5 separate regions of the Homo sapiens genome follow, and regions 2, 3, 4 and 5 are each linked to region 1. The links are contacts of gene promoters, found by promoter capture Hi-C in blood cells and fetal thymus (Javierre and others, 2016). All regions are on one chromosome and are shown on one strand. The core of a region is centred on a gene start or on the middle of the fragment in contact, and the rest is flanking DNA. Distances in the headings are between cores, read along the strand shown.

Region 1 (2,887 bases), core at 226-2,725:
TGCCCATCTGAAAAAAAGGACATGGTGCAGGGGTCCTGTCCAGGGTGGTAGGTGAGCATGGTAGTTATAGATATAGACTTGGAGGGTTGGCTATTTTCTAGCTGCAGAGTCTTGAGCAAGTTATTTAATGCTCCCTGTCTCCTTATATGTAAAATAGAGGTGATAAAATTTCCTATTTGTAGGGATATTTGTGAGGATTAAAGTTTGCAAAGCAATGTTTACATAGATCCTGGAGCACGGTCAGCTCTCAATAATTGGTAGCCCTTATTATGGCTATTGCAATTATTATTTTATTACTATAATTCTCTTTCTCAAAGGGAAGGCCGGGAAAGTGGGGCTCCAGTAGGTTGAAGATGACAGTCCCTCCCCTAGCTGAGGCAGCTGGAAGAGGTGGGAACCACTTCCTCCCACTCCCCTCTTCTTCCCCTGAGGCAGGGGTCTTCCCCTAGCTACTGACAGTTCCTGTGTCTGCTGACTCACAGCCAACTTCCTCTCATACAAACAGGAAAACACAGCCGGCCAGCGCCCCCGCCACCCCCAACACATACACACACACACACACACACACACACACACACACACACACACACACACACACAAACACCCCCCCCCCACACCCAAACACTGGTCCTGCTCAGAGAGGGAAGTGCCTCCGCCCCTGGGAGACAGGCTCCAGGACCGGGGTTCCGGCAAGATTAGCGAAGGAGAGAAGGGCCATTCCTCTTCAGGCCTCCCCGGCATCCCCCCTGAAATTTTAGGGTGGGAGTTGGGGAGAAGGGGCGGCTTCTCCCATGAATGAAACAGCTGCTTGCTTGGTCACTGAGCTTGCAGGGCGTCCGCCTGTCCCAAAAAGGCAGCCCCAAACCTTGGTTTGGAAGTAGGGATGTGCCTTGCGGACCTTCATCCCTCGAAGGAACCTAGGCCGGGCCCTTGGGGATGGAAGTGGGGAGAAACAGACGGGTACCCCTCTGCTGGGCCTCTGCGCTTGTTGCCCAGGCCAAGTCTCAATTCTGGATGTCCAGCTTCCGTCCCCACACTAAACTGGTTGCCAGGGTCCAGCCACCCTTCCGGGCGTGGGAGAGGTGCCCTGGGGGATTAGGGCTCGACCTTTCCTCCTCCCTTTTGGCAGGACTGGAGGGCATGGGAGCAGCGGAGAGGATGCAAAGCCGTCCCTGGCACTCTCCCTTTCTCAGTTTCTACCTCCGTCCCAGTCTCCGTCCCGGTCTCTGCCTCTTTGTCCCTCTCCCTGAGGTTGTCTTCGTCCCAACGTGTTCTGGTCCTTTCTCGGCCTGCGAGAGGGCAGACTGGGGGCAGACTCGGAGATAAGCGCGGCGGTTGGGCAAGAAGCCCAAACCCTTTGGAGGCCTGCGCTTGCACAAGGAGTGGCCGGGGCCCCGCGGAGGGAACCGGCCGGGCGGGGCGGGGCTGGGCCCGTCGAGGGAGGGCAGAGGGGAGGCGGGGCCGGCGCGGCGGGACCCAGAACCTCGGACGAGCGGCGGGCACCCGCGAGCGGACGGCGGCCGCGTAGTGAGGTGAGGACCCCCGCGCCCCCCGGGTCCCTGCTTCCCAGACTCCTCCCCATCACCTTCTCGAGGGCCTTCGTGGGCTCCCAGGCCCCCTCGGCGCCGGCGGCCCTCCCCATCCCTGCCACGACCCGCCCCTCCCTCCTGCTGCCCGGCCTCTGCCCCATCCCTCCTCGCCCCCTCCCTCGTCGCAGCCTGCGCTGCCCGCCACTGCCCGCCCCGCCCCCGCCACTCCTGTCCCGCGAGCACCTCAGCTCCCAGCCCCGTGCTGTCGAGCCCGGCCTGAGTCACCGGGAAACCGGGCCCTGAGTCAGGGCCCGAGGCTCAGCACGCGGGCCCTGGCTTGGGAATGAGGCCCAGCTGGAGAGAGGCAGAGGGAGGCCAGCAGTGATGCTGGGACGGAGAGGGCGTCCTGGTCACCGACAGAGCACAAGAGTAACAGGGAGAGAGCCTAGGCCGAGGCGGAAGACAGAAACCCAGGCTCAGAGGCAGACAGAGACACAGATACAACTCAAGATCTGGTTAGAATTGTAGACTGAGTCAAGGACAAGCTTAATAACAGAGAGCAAAACAGGGTGGGACAAGGAGAGGGACAAAGAAGAATTGAGAGGTTGAGATGGAATGGGGCAGGGACAGTGACAAGGCAGAGATAAAACTCAGGGGCCACAGAATTAGAGACAGGTCTATGAAATAGACCAGGGTCAGGGTCGGGGTCAGGCTGGTGGAAGGGGGACAGAGCACAGAGACCTGAGCCCAAGGGAATGAGCAGGGAAAAGGCAAGCTCAGAAAAGGAAGGCTTGGAGAAAGCAGAGGTGGGGGGATGGCATTTCACACTGCCAAATCGCTACAGGGCATGTGCACACACAGGTGAACAGCATGTGAACATGCTGCCGGTGGGCAGAGAGTCCAGAAGCCTCTGGAGTACCCCTGACCAGAGGTCAGGCCTCATCTCTCTGGCATCCCCATCCTTATTCTTCAATTAGCCTCCACCCAGGGCCGGGACCCCACACATTAGGACTGGTTAGGGCTCTCCCGGCAGCCTGACCAAAGCAGGCAGGATGTGGAGGCGGCCAGGGCTGGAGGGACAGGAAGGAAGTCTGAGCAGAGACAATAGGTGGAAGGGGAGGAGGGACTGGGAACAACCAGGATTAGGACGGCAGGCCTGCATACATCGGCTCTGGAAACAAGAGGGAGGGGGCGTCTGCACCTCCTTCCTCCTATCTAGGCTGCCCCTCTCCCTACCTTACTCCAGAGCTGATTGGCCACATCATTGGCCCCTCCTCTGCATCTCCCTATCCCACTCTGACCCACAGCATTCTAGCATCTTGTCCCATGCTTACTCAGTTGGATGTGCAGTCAGGCAG
Region 2 (2,887 bases), core at 189-2,688, 230 kb before region 1:
TATTTCATAGAAATGAAATCATACACTACATGATCTTTTGCGTCTAGCTTCCTTCACTTAACAATGTTTTCAAGGTTCATCCATGTTGTAGCATACATCAGTACTTCATTTATTTTTATTGCTAAATAATATTCTATTGTGTGGGTATACCACATTTTGTTTATCCATTCATCCATTGATGGATATTTGGGTTGTTTCCATCTTTTGGCTATTGTGAATATTGCTACTGTGAATATTTATATACAAGTATTTGAGTACCTACTTTCAAGTCTCTTGGGTATACCCCTACGAATGAAACTGCTGGGTCATACGGCAATTCTATGTTTAACATTTTAAGGAACCACCAACTGTTTTCCACAGTGGCTGTACCATTTTATGTTCCCATCAGGAAGGCCCAAGGGTTTCAGTGTCCCCACATTCTTGCCAATACTTGTTCTTTTCCTTAATTATAGCCATCACAGTGGGTATAAAGTGGTATCTCATTGTAGTTTTGATTTGCATTTCCGTAATGACTAATGATGTTGAGCATCTTTTCATGTACTTTTTGGCCATTTATATGTCTTCTTTAGAGAAATGTCTATTCAAGTCCTTTGCTCATTTAAAAAATTGAGTTATCTAGGCCAGGCAGGGTGCTCACACCTGCAATCCCAGCACTTTGGGAGGCCAAAGAGTGTGGATCACTTGAGCCCAAGAGTTTGAGACCAGCTGGGGCAACATGGCAAAACCCCATCTCTACGAAAAAATACAAAAAATTAGCCTGGCATGGTGGCACCTGTAGTCCCAGCTACTCAGGAGGCTCAGGTGGGAGGATCACTTGAGCCCCAGGAAGGTTGAGGCTGCAATGAACTGTGATCTTTCCACTGTACTCTAGCCTGGGTGACAGAGTGAGACCTTGTCTCAGAAAAAAAGGATTGTCTTTTTGTTATCAAATTATGAGTCCTTTATATATTCTGGATACTAGAAGTTTATTGGATATGTGATTTGCAAATTGACAAATGAAATGAAAAGTGTCTTTTCACTTTCTTGAAGATGTTCTCTGATGCATGAAAGTTTTTAATTTTGCTGAAGTCCAGTGTATCCATACTTACTTTTTGTTGCATGTGGTTTTGATATCATGTTTAAGAAACCATTGCCAGGCCGAGCGTGGTGTCTCATGCCTGTAATCCCAGCACTTTGGGAGGCTGAGGCGGGCAGATCACCTAAGGTCAGGAGTTCGAGACCAGCCTGGCCAACATGGTGGAACCCTGTCTCTACTAAAAAATATAAAAATTAGCCGGGCGTGATGGCCGGCACTTTGCTCCCAGCTACTTGGGAGGCAGAGGCAGGAGAATCGTTTGAACCCGGGAGGCGGATGTTGCAGTGAGCCGAGATTGAGCCATTGCACTCAAGCCTGGGGGATGAAAGCAAGACCGCTCTCAAAAAAAAAAAAAAAAAAAAAAGAAACCATTGCCAAATCCAAAGTCATGAATATTTACCCTTATGTTTTCTCCTAAAGGTTTTACACTTTTTGCTCTTACATTTAGGTATTTGATACATAATGAGTTCAAAATTTTTGTTTGTTTTTTGTTTTTGTTTTAGGCCACTAAGTTTGTGGTAATTTGTTACATAGCAATAGAAAGCTAATACAGGACCAGAGCAAGAAAAGTTTCTGAAGCTATTGCAGGTATGATATAAGCTGCTTTCCTGCTTGGGCCTTATGACCCAGCAGATTCAACAGTGCTCCAAATGTCTATTGCAGATAGGAATGCTGGTGAACCATCTGGGAATCCCTGATAGAGGAATCATGACGTAGACTCCTAGAGTTTTGTATTGCAGCTATGTCTTTTTACACAAATAACTCATTCACACTTTGAAAAAATAAAATATACAGCTCCTGGGCTTGTTCCTGGGCTCTGGTGGAGACCAAATGCCTGACCTAGGATGCCAAGTGAACATGTAGCATTTACCCATTTATCATAAGGGGTATTTTAAAGATGAACAGCCAGATGGAGAGATGGATAGGTCAAGCCATGTGGGAAGGGGCATAGAGCTTTCATACATCTCTAGGCATGCCACCTTCCCTCCAAGTATCTTCATGTGTTCAGCTATCCAGAAGCTCCTTAGTGAGTTAATATTTGTATATGGTACGAGGTAAGGGGTCCAACTTTCTTCTTTGTTCTTCTTTCTTTCTCCTTCTTCTTCCTTCTTCTTCCTCCTTCTTTCTCTTCCTCCTCCTCCTCTTCCTTCCTCTTCTTCTTCTCCTCCTTCTCCTTCTTCTTCCTTTTTTGTATGTGGATATCCAGTTGTCCCAGCACTATTTGTTGAAGACACTATTTTTTGCCCATTGAATGCTCTTGGCACCCTTGTCAAAAATCAATTGACCCCATAGCTGTATTAGTATATTTTTGGACTCTCAATTCTATTTCGTTGATATATATCTCTCTATCCTTTATGCTACTATCACACTATTTTGATTACTGTAGCTTTGTAATACGTTTTGAAATCAGGAAGTGTAAGTCTTCCAGCTTTGTTCTTCTTTTTCAAGATTGCTTTGGCTATTTGGGGTCCGCTGCAATTCCATTTGAATTTAAGGATTGGCTTTTCCATTTCTGCATTGAGTCAAAAGCTCTGAAGGTAAAGCCAAGGAATCTGCTTTTTTTAAAAAAAATAAGTTTTGATTGTGAGTAAAATACACACAACATAAATTTTACCACTTTAACCATTTCTAAATGTACAGTTAAGTACATTCACATTTTTATGCAGTCAATACCCAGAACTTTTTCATCTTGCAAAACTGAAACTATACCCATTAAACAACCCCCCTTTTCCTCCTACCCCTGGAACCTGATAACCACCATTCTACTTTCTGTCTCTATGAGTTGGACTACTCTAGGTACTTCATATAAGT
Region 3 (2,887 bases), core at 200-2,699, 210 kb before region 1:
CCTCCGCTTCCCAGGTTCAAGCGATTCTCCTGCCTCAGCCTCCCGAGTAGCTGGGATTACAGGCATGTGTCACCACACCCGGCTAATTTTTGTGTTTTTAGTAGAGATGGGGTTTCACTGTGTTGCAGGCTGATCTCGAACTCCTGACCTCAGGTAATCCGCCCGCCTCGGCCTCCCAAAGTGCTGGGATTACAGGCGTGAGCCACTGCACCCAGCCAAAACTTTGTCTTTGACAGAGGAGACCAAATTCTAGTTTTGCATCAGTGTACTATTAATGCTAAGGCTAATTTTAAAAATGTCTTCTGAATAAATCTATCCCGTCTCAGATAGCTTTGATCATACCAGATAAGACTCCTTTCCTAAGATTTCCTTCCTCAAACCCATTACAACCATTTAAAAATATCCATCAAGCCGGCCGTGGTGGCTCATGCCTGTAATCCCAGCACTTTGGGAGGCTGAGGCGGGTAGATCACAAGGTCAGGCGTTTGAGACCAACCTGGCCAACATGGTGAAACCCCATCTCTACTAAAAAAATACAAAATGAGCCGGGTGTGGTGGCACACACCTGTAGTCCCAGCTACTTGGGAGGCTGAGGCAGAAGAATCGCTTGTACCCGGGAGGCGGAGGTTGCAGTGAGCTGAGATCATGCCACTGCACTACAGCCTGGATGACGGAGTGAGACTCCATCTCAAAAACAAACAAAAAATATATATATATATCCATCAACATTTCTTTCCCTACATTTTTCTCTTTCTCATTCTGGGAAGATCAGTCATTCTACTTTATGGCAGAATTAATTACTCGTTTTTCCCCTAACAGAAAAACACATCCTCATGCCTTATAATTTTCCTTACCAACAATGTATCTTATTTTCCTTGCATTATTTGCATACAGAGTTGTTACACTTATAATTTCTAATAGTTTTAATTCCATATATTAATTTGAATTTTAAATTTTAGTATCCTTAATTTCTAGTGAAAACTAAGAAGTAAGCAATTGTGAACTGTCACATACCAACATTCTGTAGATTAACACCATTTCATAATTTCTAGAAATACATGCATCTCCATAATACAATTTTTCAATGTGGCACAGAACATTTTTACTGAGACCCAAATATATTTCGTTCTTCTGAAATAAGAAGCAAAAGTAGATAAACTCATGTTCAGTGATTAATGTTTCAGCATTATATCTTACATAGAAATGACCCATTTGATAAATGTTTGTTACTCATTTTAATTTAGTATAACTTTAAGCTTGAAGTTGCCAAAAAAATTTTGGAATTATTTTTAACTGGAAATGTTTTATAAAACGTAATTGTTGTTGGAAAAGATTATTTATAAGCTTTTATCCCACTTATATCTCATTTAATTCACTTGTTCTTAACAATTATGCTTGAATTAAATTACTCATGAAAATTTCATGAGACATTAAACAAAGCTAGCCACCATCTTAAGTTATTTTTCTTGTTGACAAATTAGGCAAGTATCAAAAATACCACAGAAGCAAAGAAACTAAAAGTTAAATATATAAGTGGAGATAATATAAGCTTGTTTGACTAGTAAACCCAAGTGGAAAAAAATGTATGCCTGCATTATATTTAATGCTAACAATTCTGAAGACGTTTCTGATTTTCTTTTACGAACAATTTAAAAACTAATCTTATTTCTTGAAAATTTACCCAAGTTGGCGAGGCGTGGTGGCTCACGCCTGTAATCCCAGCACTTTGGGAGGCTGAAGCGGGCAGATCGCGAGGTCAAGAGTTCAAGACCAGCCTGGCCAACATAGTGAAACCATGTCTCTACTACAAATACAAAAAATTAGCTGGGCTTGGTAGCAGGCACCTATAATTCCAGCTACTTGGGAGGCTGAGGCAGGAGAGTCGCTTGAACCCGGGAGGCAGAGGTTGCAGTGAGCTGAGATAGTGCCATTGCACTCCAGCCTAGGCAGCAAGAGTGAAACTCTGTCAAAAAAAAAAAAAAAGAAAGAAAGGAAAAAAGAAAGAAAGAAAGAAAGAGAAAGAGAGAGAGGAAGGAAGGAAGGAAGGAAGGAAGGAAGGAAGGAAGGAAGGAAGGAAGGAAGAAAATTTACCCAAGTCATCTAAACTCAAAAAAGCTTGGGGTTAGTTTCTGTTTCTTTCTTTTTTTTCAGAGACAGAGAGAGAGATGAGGCCACTATGTTGCCCAGGCTGGTCTTGAACTACTGGACTCAAGGAATTCTCCAAGAGATTCTCCTGCCTCAGCTTCTGAAGTAGTTGAGACTGCAGGATCATGCCACTACACCTGGCTTAGACTCTACATTTCTGAGAGTTTTAGGAATACTTTATACAAGCACTCATTTATTTCCAGACCAATTTGAGTAGAATTCCTTTAAGGAATTTTATAAATAAATGTGATAATACTATCCAGAGGTAGGAAAAATACCAGCTATGCATAACATACAAATACATATACATATGTAAACATATGGACAGATGGCAAAGATCTTACAGGTTTTTTTTTTTTTTTGAGACGAAGTCTCGCTCTGTCACAAGGCTGGAGTGCAGTGGCACAATCTCGGCTCACTGCAACCTCTACCTCCCTGGTTCAAGCGATTCTCCTGCCTCAGCCTCCCGAGTAGCTGGGACTACAGGCGCATGCCACCACACCCAGCTAATTTTTGTATTTTTAGTAGAGACAGGGTTTCACCATGTTGGCCAGGATGGTCTCGATCTCTTGACCTCGTGATCCGCCCACCTCGGCCTCCCAAAGTGCTGAGATTACAGGTGTGAGCCACTGTGCCCAGCCGATCTTACAGCTTTTAACATGTTAGCCATGTGCCAGGTACAATAATTCAAAACACACTAATTTATAAAATAAACGGCTAGATCTAAATTGTGTTTTTGGCA
Region 4 (2,887 bases), core at 243-2,742, 170 kb before region 1:
CATGCCTATCTGTGTGTGTGAGAGGGAGAGAGAGAGAGAGTTGATTGTGTCAATCAATTCAATGAGGATGGAGGTTTCCTCAACCCCACCTGAGGATAGATTTGCACATTTAAGTCTGTCTGGAGATAGATGAGGCAGTGTGTAGATGAGTGTGTGTTTGTGCACCTGTCTGAGGGCAGATTTGGTGGGTGTGTAAGAAGAGCACTGGGGGGTAGGTGACGCTGGAAGGAATGTGTCTATTTAGGGCTTGGTGGCTCATGCCTGTAATTCCAACACTCTGGGAGGCTGAGGCAGGCGGATTGCTTGAACTCAGGAGTTCAAGACCAGCCTGGGCAACATGGCTTAAACCCCATCTCTACAAAAAAATATAAAAAATTAGCCAGGCATGGTAGTGCATGCCTATAGTCACAGATATTTGGGAGTCTGAGGTGGGAGGATTGCCTGAGCCTGGGAAATTGAGGCTGCAGTGAGCCAAGATCACACCACTGCACTCCAGCCTGGGTGACAGGAGTGAGACCCTGTCTTGAAAAAAAAAAGGATAAGGCTGGGTGCGGTGGCTCATGCTTGTAATCCCAACACTTTGGGAGGTCAAGGTGGGTGGATCACCTGAGGTCAGGAGTTCAAGACCAGCCTGGTCAACCTGGTGAAACCCCATCTCTACTAAAAATCCAAAAATTAACCAGATATGGTGGTGGGCGCCTGTAATCCCAGCTACTCGGGAGGCTGAGGCAAAAGAATTGCTTGAACCCGGGAGGTGGAGGTTGCAGTAAGCCGAGATTGCGCCATTGCACTCCAGCCTGGGTGACAAGAGCAAGACTCCATCTCAAAACAAAGAAAAAGAAAAAGAAAAAAGATAGATTATGTGTGTGTGCGTGTGCGTGTGTACAGTAGGCCAGTAGGTCGATGGTGGGAGGGCATGTGTCTCTTTGAGGGTGTGTGTGCCTGTGAGTTCAGCGGTCAGGAAGGGGCGCATACTCCTGTCCTGAGGTGGGGTGTAGATGCCAGTGGGAGGCCATGAAGCAGAGCTTTGCAGAGGCTGTATGTCTGACAATTGTCCTTCCCCGCTCCCTCCTACAGACCTTCGCCCTTTGCCTGATGTCGCCATGACAGGCACATGTACCCGGGAGTGCAGTGAGTTTGGCCACTCTGACACATGCTGGATGCCTGGCCAGTCATCTCCCAGCCGCCGGACCAAGAGCAGCGCCCTCAAACTCTCCACCTTCGTGCCTTACCAGGACCGAGGAGGGCAGGAGCCTGCGGGCGCCGGCAGCCCCAGCCCCCCGGAAGACCGGAACACCAAAACGGCCCCCGTGCGCCTCCTGCCCTCCTACAGTGCCTTCTCCCACAGTAGCCATGATTCCTGCAAGGACTCGGCCACCTTGGAGGAAATCCCCCTGACCCAGACCTCGGACTTCCCACCCGCAGCCACACCGGCATCTGCCCAGACGGCCAAGCGCGAGATCTACCTGTGAGCCCCCTACTGGCCGGCCGGCCCCCCTCCCCCAGCCGCCGGCCAGCTCCCAAATGGCCCATTCCAGGGCCTCACTCTCCACCCCTTCAGCGTGGACTTCCTGGCCAGGGCCCCAAGTGGGGGTATCACTGACCTCATGACCACGCTGGCCCTTCTCCCATGCAGGGTCCAGGTCCTCTCCCCTCATTTCCATCTCCCAGCCCCCAGGGGCCCCTTCCCCTTTATGGGGCTTCCCCCATCTGATGCCCAAGAGGGCTCCTCTGCAATGACTGGGCTCCTTCCCTTGACTTCCAGGGAGCACCCCCTCGATTTGGGCAGATGGTGGAGTCAAGGGTGGGCAGCGTACTTCTAACTCATTGTTTCCCTCATGGCCGACCAGGGCGGGGATAGCATGCCCAATTTTAGCCCTGAAGCAGGGCTGAACTGGGGAGCCCCTTTCCCTGGGAGCTCCCAGAGGAAACTCTTGACCACCAGTGGCTCCCTGAAGGGCTTTTGTTACCAAAGGTGGGGTAGGGACGGGGGTGGGAGTGGAGCGGAGGCCTTGTTTTCCCGTGCTGCTCCTGGACTGGCCCACCTGCCTGCCACATGCCCACGCCTAGTCCCATCTGGGCCCCCATTCCCTGCTGGTCATGCAGTGTCTGTATATAAGGACCTTGGAATGACGTCCCCATTTCTGCCTGATTTGCAACTTTTCTTGTTGATGTCGTGTTGTCTTGGGGGACCCCTCTGGGGGGGGACCTGCCCTGTGCCCCCTCCTCCCTGCCGCAGTGCCCCCCAACCCAGGCCTCTATTGTTCCATGTTGTAAATACCCCTGGGGCCATGGTGGGATGGGGGTGCAGGCCAGGGAAACAACGGGTGGGTGGGGGTGGGGACGGGGGTAACATTTGCCTATCAGCAGAGCTGGGCTTTTATTTAATTTTTCTTAAAAATACAAATCTCTATTTTTTTGGAACTGTTGCGCTGTGCCCTGGGGGGATCCCCGCTCAGGCTGGCCTCCCACATCCAGATGAGCATCACAGAGGGGCCCTGAGGCTGTGGGGGGCAGCTGGACAGGGGTGGGATGACTGTGCCTCTGGCCTGGTTGGGTGAGTTGGGAGCAGGAAGGTTTGCTCAGGGGGTGGCTGGGTGCTGCTCCCGATATAGGGGGCCTGCATCCTGCCCCCTCCCTGCCCTCTCAACCCCCAGCCCCTGCCATGACTGACCCGTCAGCCTGTAAAACCACCATTGCCTTGATCTCAGGGGGTGGGAGGGCTGCCTCAGGGCACCCTGGGCTCCAGGCCCCCTTCTTCCAGTTGGGCTTCCCTTTGTCAGGGTCAGGGGTCCCATGGGGGAGGGGGTAGGGAGGTTGGGGGGCAGAGAAGCCCAGTCAGCCATGATGAGGTGAAGTTCTCTTCTTCACCTCAGGGGGCCAGGGT
Region 5 (2,887 bases), core at 225-2,724, 150 kb before region 1:
GCCCTGACCATCTAGAGTCTGGACCAAAATCTTTGGAAATCCAGGCAGCTTTGGGTCCTTTCCCTTGGAGGGCGTCCTGGTCCCAGGGATGTGGAAGCGGGCCACTTCAGGCACAGCTGTTCAGAGGCATATATTCCCCATCCCCATTGCCTCCTTCCGCACCCTGGCCAGGCCTGAGGGCAAAGGGAATCCAGGAGCTATATCATCTAAGATTCCCCATGGGTTTCCACGGAAAGGGAGGCTCTCCAGTGGTCTAAAGGGACTCCAGCCCTGACCTGCGCCACATCCTCAGTGTGACAGAAAGACTAGGATCAAATCACCCTGGACTTTGGAGACAGTCATTCCCATACTGGGCCATATGGACTTCTGGCTGGAATTTATGTAACTGCTCAATCATAGTACATTTGGAGACCTCACAAATTATAGTAATAATTAATTAGAAGAACTATGGCTAACATTTTTCAAGCACTTACTATGCGCCAGACCTGGGCCAAATACTTCACATGCATCATTCTCACTTGGTCCTGTAAGGAACTTCCTTTTATCATCCCTAACTTCTGGGTAAGGAAACTGAGGCCTGGATCGCTCACAGAGCTGGCCCTAGGTCACACCAGTAAATGGCAAAGCTGAGACTTGAACTCAGGTCTGCTTGACTCCACAGCCTAACCTCTGTGCCAGGTTCCCCTTAACCTCTGTGCTTGTGCCAGGGCATGACGATGTGGAACCCTGCTGAGAGACATCTGAAAAGCAACTGTGGTCTCAGGCTCAGGTGGGCACCACTCATGTCCTGGGGATAGAAGTCTACTGGGAAGCTGAGGTTTCTTTCTGTGCCACATGGAAGAGTCAGCGGGCATGACACATGGGGTCAGACGATCCCTGGCTCCTTCCACACCCCACTGCACAGCCTCAGGAAGGCAGCAGCGGCCAGCTGTAGGGTCTCTGGGAAGTTGCCCCGTCAGCCTCATCCCTAGCTCCTCATCCCCAGCTGACTGGCGTCCTGACTGCCAGCCTACAGGCCTGATTGGCCCTTGCCAACCCCAGCCATGCAGACTTCCAGACAGCAGAAGTCCTGTTTTCTTCCATTTCCTTCTCAGGGAGGAGGAAAGGAGTGCTGGGCAGGGCAGGCAGCCCGGACAGGGCCCCAACCACAGCATTGTCAAGGAGACAAAGAACTGACCAGAACCTGCCCCTCTTGTCAGCATCTTTGGGTCTCTTCCGAGCCTTTGTCAGCCCAGCACTTCTGCTGTTCCCCCACACCTGGCTTTTGCATCCTAGGGAAGAATCAGTTCTTCCTCTTAGGCCCACAGGAGCTGTCCAGCTCTTCCTATACATGAGCAATCCCACTCAAGAGCATATATTTTGAATTACAGCCTTTTTTGGTTTAGACAAAATTTATCACATGCAAATTAGGTGGTGTGCCTGGAGGATCCCACCATTAAAGTTTATGTATATATGTTGAGTGTAGTAGGGGTCACTCAAGGGACCCCTTAGACATGTTGCCCATGAGAATACTAATGCTAACATTACCGGCTACCATTTATTATCAGCCACAAGCCTGACACTGTGCCAAGCCCTTTACATGCATTCTTTTTTTTTTTTGAGATGGAGTCTCATTCTGTCACCCAGGCTGGAATGCAATGGCACAATCTCGGCTCACTGCAAGCTCCACCTTCAAGTGATTCTCTTGCCTTAGCCTCCCGAGTAGCTGGGATTACAGGCGTGTGCCACCACGCCCGGCTAATTTTGTATTTTTAGTAGAGATGGGGTTTCTCCATGTTGGTCAGGCTGGTCTCAAACTCCCAACCTCAGGTGATCCACCCGCCTTGGCCTCCCAAAGTGCTGGGATTACAGGCGTGAGCCACTGCGCCCAGCCTCATGCATTCTTATTTAATACTCAACAACCTTATGAGTTAGGTGCTGCTTGTCTTCACTTTACAGAGGAGAAAACTGAGACCAAAGTCTCAGTAAGTAGATGAGCCAGGATTTGAACCCAGACCTATAGCATGTAGGGCTTTGTTTTCCCTCCCTCCCTCCCTTCCTTCCTTCCTTTCTCCCTCCCTCCCTTCCTCCCTCCTTCACTCCTCCTTATTTTTCTTTCTTTCTTTTCTTTTTTCTTTCTTTCCTTTCTTTTTTCTTTCTTTCTTTCCTTCCTTCCTTTTCTTCCTTTTTTTTTTTTTTTTTTGAGACAGGGTCTTGCTCTGTTGCTCAGGCTGGAGTGCAGTGACATCACCATGATTCACTGTAGCCTTGAACGCCCCCACCCCCACAGGCTCAAGAGATCTTCCTGCCTCAGGCTCCCAAATAGCTGGGACCACAGGCATGCGCCACCACACCCAGCTAATTTTTAAAATTTTTGTAGCAAGACAGAATCTTGCTATGTTGCCCAGGCTGGTCTTGAACTCCTGGACTCAAGCAATCCTCCTGCCTCAGCCTCCCAAAGTGCTAGGATTACAGGCATGAGCCACTGTGCACAGCCACATGGGCTTTCTTCTGGTCATTCCGCTCTTGGCTGGTTGGCCCTTGTGCATGCCCCACCAGTGCACATGCCCATCTGATAAAGTTGGTAGCATTTCCTGAAACTCTAAAACTGCTCCAGGCAGTTCTGAGGAGATAAGACATGTCCTGCAACCTGGGTTGGGCTTTGCTTTAAGCCTCTAATTGGCTGCTAGCCAGCACCTGCCTGACTCTACCAAACTCTTCTGATCAATAACTAGTGGATGCTTTTACACTCGTGAAGCATGGTTAAGTCCATCTTATTATGGCAACTCCTGATAGTTTCCCCCACCAAAGAATCCCTTCACCTCTTTCACGTTTGTCAGTTGAGCTACTAATTTATATGCTCCCTTTGTCCTTTGCTTTTAGGTCCTCCCTGATCCTCCCTCCCACT

Evidence for each region. The method cuts DNA at HindIII sites, captures the fragments that hold promoters and counts their contacts. A CHiCAGO score of 5 or more calls a contact.
Region 2: a fragment that was not itself captured here is called in contact with the fragment with the promoter of ARAP3 in region 1 in 5 of 17 cell types (fetal thymus, endothelial precursors, megakaryocytes and 2 more); the score reaches 6.5 in fetal thymus.
Region 3: a contact is called between a fragment that was not itself captured here and the fragment with the promoter of ARAP3 in region 1, in 12 of 17 cell types (total B cells, endothelial precursors, megakaryocytes and 9 more). The highest score is 8.8, in total B cells.
Region 4: a contact is called between a fragment that was not itself captured here and the fragment with the promoter of ARAP3 in region 1, in 1 of 17 cell types (endothelial precursors). The highest score is 5.2, in endothelial precursors.
Region 5: a fragment that was not itself captured here is called in contact with the fragment with the promoter of ARAP3 in region 1 in 1 of 17 cell types (M0 macrophages); the score reaches 5.4 in M0 macrophages.

The regions. Positions count from the first base shown.
Region 1 is chr5:141,680,818-141,683,704 of GRCh38, reverse strand. It overlaps ARAP3 (ArfGAP with RhoGAP domain, ankyrin repeat and PH domain 3), which reads left to right and starts at 1,475. Exons shown (of 33, transcript NM_022481.6): 1 at 1,475-1,532. RefSeq lists a silencer at 1,426-1,475. The HindIII fragment of the contact is 6,366 bases long and covers 1-2,076 here.
Region 2 is chr5:141,906,018-141,908,904 of GRCh38, reverse strand. No RefSeq gene overlaps it. Among named protein-coding and RNA genes, the nearest start is that of DELE1, 16 kb to the left of the region's middle. The HindIII fragment of the contact is 3,655 bases long and covers 1-2,887 here.
Region 3 is chr5:141,889,787-141,892,673 of GRCh38, reverse strand. No RefSeq gene overlaps it. Among named protein-coding and RNA genes, the nearest start is that of PCDH1, 13 kb to the right of the region's middle. The HindIII fragment of the contact is 205 bases long and covers 1,347-1,551 here.
Region 4 is chr5:141,852,627-141,855,513 of GRCh38, reverse strand. PCDH1 (protocadherin 1) reads left to right here. Exons shown (of 5, transcript NM_032420.5): 5 at 1,078-2,424. The coding sequence ends at 1,472. Among named protein-coding and RNA genes, the nearest start is that of PCDH1, 24 kb to the left of the region's middle. The HindIII fragment of the contact is 3,137 bases long and covers 1-2,887 here.
Region 5 is chr5:141,832,932-141,835,818 of GRCh38, reverse strand. No RefSeq gene overlaps it. Among named protein-coding and RNA genes, the nearest start is that of PCDH1, 44 kb to the left of the region's middle. The HindIII fragment of the contact is 4,346 bases long and covers 1-2,887 here.